Regions from separate parts of the Homo sapiens genome. Here region 1 is linked to region 2. Evidence: promoter capture Hi-C in 16 types of primary human blood cells and fetal thymus (Javierre and others, 2016). All regions are on one chromosome and are shown on one strand. Each heading gives the region's core, a stretch centred on a gene start or on the middle of the fragment in contact. The rest is flanking DNA. Distances are from core to core; before and after follow the strand shown. Region 1 overlaps LOC105371664 (a long non-coding RNA gene). Region 2 holds the start of RGS1 (regulator of G protein signaling 1).

Region 1 (4,459 bases), core at 1,616-4,115, 37 kb after region 2:
TGACAGATCCATTCTAAAAACTAACACCTTCATGTTCAGCCAAGAACCAGCAAGTTCACATCTTACTTGAAGAAAACAAACCTTTGTATAAGTTGGAAGCATAGTATCACAAAGTGGCATACAGGGGTAAATAGATGCCTGATTTGCTTCCAGTCAGCCAGGCCCAATAATGTCCTTCAAGCCTGCAGAACTATTGCCTCTGATGTTCCTCCACCACCCTGAAACAGAACCAATAGCGGCTGATCTTGTGTCTACCCGCAACCTTCTCTTTCGTGACAAAGCAACATGCAAGTGGAATCCCAAGGTAAGACAAATGTTGTCATTTTAGTTAACATTGATTAAACATAGTGTTTACGTCACTAAAATCGTCAGTACTATAATCATAAGTTCTTATTCATGGGCTATGATAATAACTATGTGAAATCTATTTCTGATTAATCTTTCCACCTAGTGCTTAAATATAGAATATTACTATATTCAATACAAATATAAAAACATTTGATTTATATTTATTTAAATATATTTTTTATCCCTAGTATATTTATTAAATATATTAATATAGAGTTATGTATCTAGATCTATAAAAGGGTCAATATTTCGGCAAAAATTTTGCTATTAACTTTTCAAGGAAATTACATACTGGCTTTTAATTACAATGGCCTATGATGACACCTAGTGGCTAATGGGCATATTTTGAAATCCCCAATTTGACCAATATAAATGATTTTTAATTTTTTTAAAATAAATACAGTGATAATGTTTCCTTTTGTGGATTTTGGCACATTTTTAAAGTAAAATAAATATATCAAATTTCTCTTTCCTGTCACAAAGAAACTCTGAAAAAAGTTAACTGTAATTAAGAAAGACCACTTTTTAAAAATTGTACTTACATCGTCAGATAATATATTAGCTATCAATCATAGTTAAAAAGGAAGAAAATAACATTATGCAAGTTCAAAGTGAATGTAGGCATTGTAATCAGTTAACCCTCTAAATTTATAAAAATGTAAGGCAGAATCACTTAACGTGAAATTCCTGGGATGGAAATCATAGATTTATAGTCCTGATTGTGCCTCAAATTAGTTGTGTCCTTGAGCAAATTGTGCAATCTCTCTGTGCCTCAATTCTATAATTAGTAACATGAGAAGGTCAGAATTTACAGGCCTTTTGAGCAATTTCTTATGTGAGACTCTACAAATTGCTGTCAGTCACATGGCCTTCCTCATCTAGGCACCTGTTCCTAACACAACAGAATATGAAATGCTCCATTCTGAATTCAAGGTTTAATATATATCAGCTTTTCTGACACATATATTTTCTTTTAGATCATAAATTCATAATATGTACTTAATATTTAATTCATTTATAGTCCCAATCTTGAAATGTTTGGTAATTTCATTAGCTATTGAACAAAATGATATTAATTTTGAATGCTTCCTCAAGTTGCTTCACTAAAATGAAAAAGGAACCACTAGCATCTTTCCTTAATATTTAATAAGCATATATTTTTCACTTTATTCTAGAAATTTATAATTTTGCATAATTCTATTAAGTCTTCTCACAGACTTCCACTGTCTACATCTGAAGAGCTCTAGTCCTGATAGTTTGAACGTTTGAACTCATTTTATAGTTATCCCTCCCTCTCCGCACTAGGCACCCCCAACACACACACACACACACACACACACACACACACACACACACACGTAAATTCTTACCATCTTTGTCTTGCCATCTTTCTCTTCTTATATTTCAGTTTTCATTTTTTTCTTTTTTTAAAAAAAGTGGATTATTAAATATTTCAAGCATAGAAAAAATTGTAAGTCAATATGTAAAACACCCATGGATCTATCACTTATTTTTGTAATCTTAACATTTTGTCATATTTTATTTAGTAAAAATGGAATACTGCACAGACAATTAAGACCCCATATACCTATCCCCTGCCTCCATCTCTATCAGAAATCACTATCTATATTTAGAGTTTATAATCCACCTGCATGTCTTTATATTTTTATTACATATAACCAGGAGCAATACATGTACGGGTTTACATGTTTTAAAACATTATATAAATGTTTATATAAGTAAATATTCTTCTGCAATTTGTTTGTACAGAAGTTGTTAATTTCAATGTAGTAAAATTTACCAATCTTTTTCTTTAAGTTTTATACCTTAGTTTTTCTTTAAGAAATCTTTCTGTAGCTCAGGGTCATAACAGGTTCTGTACTAATTTTTTAATTAAATCTTTAATATTTTTGCCTTTAACCCATTGTTTTGGGTATAATGTAAGGCTGGTATCTGAGGTCATGGGCTTTTTTTTCTATATAGATAATCGGTCATCCCAGCATCAATCTATTGAATAATCCATATTGTGCTCTGATTTTCACCTCTGTAGTATTTTATTTTTCCATATGAGTAGGGCTGTTCTGTGCTGTACATTTTTCTATTTGTCTTTACTTGCACAGATATTATACCATTTTAATTTCTACAATTTTAGAGTAAACCTGGATATCGGTTCTCTCCACCATTTTGGAAAATGTCTTAATTATTTTTTACTCTTTTTTGAGGTATGAATTATAGCAAGAACTTGTCAAAGTCAAAGGAAATTGCTCTACTGTAATTTTGCTTGGAATTACATTGAATGTATAGGTTAATGAAGACAGAGTTATATTTATAATATTTTCCTCCATGAACATAATATAGCTCCTTATTTATTTAGGTTCTCTGTTTCATGAAACTACTAAGTTTTCTCTAGAAACTCTTGCACATCTCTTGTTAAATTTATTCCTAGGTTCCATATAATTTTATCACAATTTTAAATGCTATGGTTTAAGCTATATTTTATCTTTGCTTATGCTATATAAAGAAAAGCAGATTATTTTTACGTGTTAATCTTGTATTTCAACAGCGTAATTAAACTTTCTTTAGTGTCAAGTAATTTGCCTATATGTTCTTTTTAGATTTTCTTAGTAAGCTGATAGGCCTTCCCTATGACAATAATAATTTTGTCTCTTCACTGCTAATAGTTATACTTGTTTGCACTTTGCACTAGGTGTGGCCTCCAGCAAACATTTAATAGAAACAATGACAGTAATAGGACAGTACTTCAAAGGTTTTATTCTTAATATGACATTTGCTGTAAGTTTTTGGTAGAAACTCTTCACAGGATTCAGGGATTTCTCCTTTATTCCTAGTCTTCTTTATTGTAAATCAGTATTGCATATTTATCAAATACTTTTTCTGCACTTATTGGGATAATCACATGACTTTCATCTATTAATGCGATGAAATACACTAAAATATTTTATAATAGTAAAACTTCTTTGCATTCTAAAACAAGCCCAATTTAGTTCTAATGTATTCTTTTGCATATTAAAGATGAGCCTATAATTTTCCTTTCTCATGTTGTCTTTCTTCGGTTTTGATATAGAGGTTTTACTAGTTTCATAAAATGTGTTTAGAGATACACTCATTTTCTATTCTTTGGAAAGTTTATGTCATATTTGGATTTCCTGTCCTTTGCATAGTTGATTAAGGTTCCTCTAAAATTAGCTGGAGCTGGATTTGTGGTTTTGTGAGTGTGGATGAAGATAGGGGCATAGGAGGAGGTGTGCTGATGCACTAGGAGATGAAAATATTCAAATTTTCATTTAATTCCCATAATAGTTAAAGATCTATTCAGATTTTCTAATTATTTTTTGTCAGCTAAGTGACATTTTTGTAGAAATATGACCATTTATTTTTTGGTCATAGTATTCTCCTGTGATTCTGTTTCATATCTATTAGAACTGTAGATCTGTAGCCATGACCTTTTCTTATCCCTAATATTGTTAAAGGTCATCTCTCTATTTCTACTATATCACTTTTGTCAGAAAGACTTCCTTATTTTTACGTAGAAACAAATTTGTTTCTTAACCCTTTTTGTATTCCTTTTCTATTAAATTATGACAGTTGTTTTTATTTCATTAATTTGTGCTTTTACCTGTGTACTATTCCTTTCCCTCTGATTTATATGTTTTTTTGGTACTGTTTTCCTATCTTCTTTGTTGATCACATAGCTCATTATTTTGCAGTTTTCTTTCTTTTTAAAATACAAGCATTTAATGTCATATAAATTATCCTTAAAAAAATCATTTTAGGCCTGGCACAGTCATTAATGCCTGTAATCCTAGCACTTTAGGAGGCCAAGCTGGGGGGATTGCTTGAGGCCAGGAGGACGAGACCAGCCTGGGCAACATAGCCAGACGATATCTGTACAAAACTTTAAAAAAAAAAAATAGTCATGGCGGGCCGGGCCCGGTGGCTCACACCTGTAATCCCAGCACTGGGAGGCCAAGGCAGGTGGATCACGAAGTCAGGAGATTGAGACCATCCTGGCTAACACGGTGAAACCCTGTCTCTATTAAAAATACAAAAAATTAGCAGGGTGTGGTGGCAGGCGCCTGTAGTCCCAGCT
Region 2 (4,590 bases), core at 1,475-3,974:
ATACATATCATGATACATTTGTCAAACTCATGGAATGTACAGCACCAAGAGTGAACTCTAATGTAAACTATAGATTTTAGATGATAATGCTGTGTCACTGTAGGTTCATCAATTATAACAAATATTTCACACTAACGAGGTATGGTGCTGGAGGTGGAGCTGGAGGCAAGGTGAAAGGTGGGGAGTTGTGGGAACTCTGTACTTTCCACTCAATTTTACTGTAAACCTAAAACTTCCCTAAAAATGAAGTCCATTAATTTTTCTTTAAAAAAAAAGATAACACTAAGACTACATGAAGTATTCCTTTTCCTAGAAACTCAAACCTAGATGTTTTAGCACAGTTTCAAAGAGGGAAAACTGAAACCCAGATCGTGAGACCCACTGTTTCTTCTACTGACGTTTTTGAAATCCTCTACTATTTCAACCAAAGTCATTGATTCAATAAAGTTACAATTTGACAGTTTATCTTTTCTTAGTGAAGTTTACAAAGAGGGGCCAGATAGTGGCACTCTCTTTAAAATTAATAGGGAACTTTCAATGCCCTGCCATGCACTTGTCACACTTGCTGATACAACTTGACCAAATTTGCCTTGTTCTGGAACACACAGACTTTGGGTGGATGAGCAAACAGCCTCTGAGAGAGCAGCTGCTTTATTGCATGACTAAGGTGACCTCATCAGCCAATTGTGATACAGGAATTTTGAAAGGACTCCCTCTTTCAAGAGTTTATATTTCTATTCAAGTGTGGAAGCATGCAGTTGTAAATGCTTGCGCTTCAAAATGTATATTGGGATAGGGGTAGCAAAATGTTGGGAGCATCAGAGCAGTTCCTAAATACACTACAGGCAAAAACTTATTTTGATCTCAGACCAGAGTTTCTTAACATAGTGTCAAAAAAACACATTATTTCAAAAAACTATTTTCCCTATCTAAAGAGGGTTTAGTTCTTTAACAAGTTAGGAGTCCAACATTTCCCAAACTTACTTGGCCCCATAATTTTTGCTGCTGCTCTTGTTCTTTGGAAACTGTCAGTATATTTGGATGATAATACTAGTGGGCTGTTAAAAATAATTTTTAAATCATTTTACTCTAACATAACTTACTCACAATTATTTAGAGGAGTGAGAGGATACTAGATCAACAAACATGAGCAATGTTGAAGATTTTAACAGGAAATTAAGTATGGACTGAACCACAGGAAGTATACAACCAAATGCCTTTATGTCATCTGTCTTTGAGTTTCATCGGTCTCATTAGGGTCACTTCCAAAGTGGCCAGCTCATCTCACCAGTTATCTTTCTTAATGCCTTATGTTATCTTCCCAACATAAAATGATGCTTGTTACATACAATATAATGAGCTCATTATAATGAAATTAATGACTGTGTATAAGTGAATTTTATAATATTGTAAATGTGTTTTCTTCAAATATTCTTTATCCTGACGATAGAACCAGAACAGAAAAATTAATACTCCCCTCCCTTTTATCAGCTTTACCTAATACCATCAGAAGCTTCACTAAGTAAATGCTTTTTTGTCCTTTTAAAGGAAAGTATTGTCCTTCCAGGGGTAAAATCCAAGGAGGCTTAAGTTAAACTGGGTACTCTATAAATAAGCCACACTTGTTATATAAACTTTTGAAAGCTTATATTTTACTAACTTCTCTATCCTTATAAATGATTAGTCATCTAGTTCCTTGAGTTTTGTTTGTGTTTTAAACTTTAATCTCAATTAAAGCTAAAACTGTTATCTCTCCAGAGATACTGCCAAAATGTGAAAGATCATTACCTAAGAAGTACACATTATTGGTCTATCCAAATAGACTTTTATTTTACCTTGAGCAGTTTTTCCTCTGATACTGTGACCTTGGTATCAGTATGTTTACAAATTATGTCATATTTGTATACAATTAAACATTTATTTATTTATGATTGGTTTTAATTAAACTTTATTTTTTCCTAATATGCAAAATATGCAAAAATCAAAGTTTGATATACTAGTTATATTCTTAATAAATATGAAAATAATATTAAAAACCATGCACCCCTTAAAATCATCCTATGTATTGCCAGTCGATGTCTAGCACACACCTTGGAAAATATTAACATGGAAATTTCCTGCCATGGAAATAAGGGATGAGAATTGGAGTGGGAAAATGTGAAGATAGCCTCTTATAACTTTCCCTCCTATCAGATATGTGCAAAATAATTAAACAAAAATTATTTGTTTACTTTGCCCTGCTTCCTGCAGAAAAGAAGAGAACTCTTAAAATATTTTGATCAGATGAATTTTATAGTCAAGGACTATCCAAAGCATGGAGTAAGATACAACTCTATGTGATGAATTTCTATGTGAGTTTCTATATGATAAATTAATACGCCAAATGAAACAGTTTATTGAAACATGCAACTTTTTTAAAATAAACAAACATCCTCCAGAACCAAAGACTGATGCTGTTAATGCTTTAGACATGTGACATATGTGTGTGTACCTCTGTATGTTTAATTTTCTTTCTTTCTAATCAAGTGACCTGTTCTCGTTTGGTTAAGTTTCAACCACAAGACACCACTGTATGCTTTTTTTTTTTCAAGATACACGTCACAGCACACCAAGAAAAGGGGAACTTCCAGTGTCTGTGGTAACATCACTTGATAAACAGACTCCTTTAAACAGCAAGTGCCTGTCTGCATTCTACTATATAAAGCAGCAGAGACGTTGACTAGCGCATATTTGCTAAGAGCACCATGCGCGCAGCAGCCATCTCCACTCCAAAGTTAGACAAAATGCCAGGAATGTTCTTCTCTGCTAACCCAAAGGAATTGAAAGGAACCACTCATTCACTTCTAGACGACAAAATGCAAAAAAGGAGGCCAAAGACTTTGTAAGTTTGTTCAGAGTCTCACTTTGTGAATTTTAACAAGTTATCTTTAATGGCAGAAGGATTGAGAATGAATGGAAGAGAGTGTGAGCATTTAGTTTAGCCAGATCAGAGGAGTTAATTGCCTGTTGTGAGTAATAAGTAATATTCAGCTGCATTAAAAAATAAATCTTGATATGGCATTAAATTGGGTAGGAGTTTTTCTCTACACAGGCTCATAAAAATGGGTTCTATAGCAAAATGTTGTATCAACCATTTTTAGTATTGCCTTATTCCTTAGAGAAATTTATTCTATGTCTTTTTACAAATAAAATGAATTCTGAAGAAATATGAATATTCACTTTTATGTCTTTTGTAGTGGAATGGATATGAAAGCATACCTGAGATCTATGATCCCACATCTGGAATCTGGAATGAAATCTTCCAAGTCCAAGGATGTGTAAGTACACTAATACACTAAACTATCATTATCATTTACAAGAGAAGCCTATGCATTATCTCTATATCCCAGCAAGGGATAAATACTGCGCACAGTAGACTTCATTTCTTTTAAGTAACATGCCAAATAAAATTAGACTATCAGTACCAATGTAAATTGAATACAAATGTGTACACACACATATTGGACTTTATCTATTTGGATTTTTTCAAATTTTATTGGCAGGTTTTTTTTTTCATAACTATAGTAACTCTAAGGGAAGTTTTGCATTTTGTGAATAAATTTTAACATATTTATTAGAACTACAGTTTCAGTTTGTGAAGTTATCAAAGTGTAACAGCCATTCTTATTTCATTTGTGCTTACATTTTAAAAATTGACTAATGTATGTACATTTTGTCCCCTGCAGACTTTCTGCTGCTGAAGTAATGCAATGGTCTCAATCTCTGGAAAAACTTCTTGCCAACCAAAGTAAGTATAACTATTGAATGTTTCTGGGTTCAGCTAAATACTCTAAAAAATTGAATGGCTTCACTAAATATAGTATTCTGGGTAGGATAGTATGCAAAAGGTTGTATTCTAGTTTGTCTGTAGTTACTGATAACTTCAGCATAGTATGCCTCTTAATAATGCTGACTTAGCACTCAATTCTGCCAACTCCTTTTAGACAAATTTGCCAAGACAATTAGGTATTTTCATAGATCATTATGGAGATAAAATTAAACATTGTGCTGGGATTCTGATATGTAAAAATTTTAAAAGTAAGCCAAATATTTTAATATGTACATTGCCATTTTGAAATCTGCCTAAAGAATGTATTTTTCTACACTTGGATGTAACAAGTATGATTCATTCATTCAATTAATTAAATTATCTTTCATACATTCATCATTCATCTCACCCTTATGTAGAGGACATTGTAGAGGTACCAAGGATTCAAAATCAAAGACAGTCTCTTACTGCCTTGAAGGTGGTTGAGATACATAACATAAATAATTGCATTATTATAACATGATAGTTTTTATGACATAAATATGATAGAAGGATTTTTAAGCACATATAGTCTTGTGGAGATTTTCTGATGAGAGAAGGTAAAGAATGAAATCAGCTTGCCATCCCCTTGTCTTGGGCATTACAATTCTACTGAGATTAGGACCTTTTTCAGAGGTGTAGATGAGCAGTGTGGTCTCTATCTCTAAAGAGTGAGATTATTCTTTTCTCCCCACAGACACCCTAAGGAGCTTTACTTGGGAATCACATTGTTCACTCTAGCT

Evidence for each region. Contacts are between HindIII fragments. The CHiCAGO score rates a contact against its expected background, and 5 or more counts as called.
Region 1: a fragment that was not itself captured here is called in contact with the fragment with the promoter of RGS1 in region 2 in 1 of 17 cell types (total B cells); the score reaches 5.7 in total B cells.

What each region holds. Positions count from the first base shown.
Region 1 is chr1:192,609,633-192,614,091 of GRCh38, forward strand. All of the region lies in intron 2 of LOC105371664 (a long non-coding RNA gene), which reads right to left. LOC107985241 (a long non-coding RNA gene) reads left to right here. Exons shown (of 2, transcript XR_001738348.2): 1 at 1-304. Among named protein-coding and RNA genes, the nearest start is that of RGS13, 24 kb to the right of the region's middle. The HindIII fragment of the contact is 8,586 bases long and covers 1-4,459 here.
Region 2 is chr1:192,573,049-192,577,638 of GRCh38, forward strand. RGS1 (regulator of G protein signaling 1) reads left to right here and starts at 2,725. Exons shown (of 5, transcript NM_002922.4): 1 at 2,725-2,881; 2 at 3,237-3,317; 3 at 3,726-3,787. The coding sequence starts at 2,745. The region is part of intron 3 of LOC105371664 (a long non-coding RNA gene); the gene reads right to left. RefSeq lists an enhancer at 2,570-2,649. The HindIII fragment of the contact is 3,705 bases long and covers 1,643-4,590 here.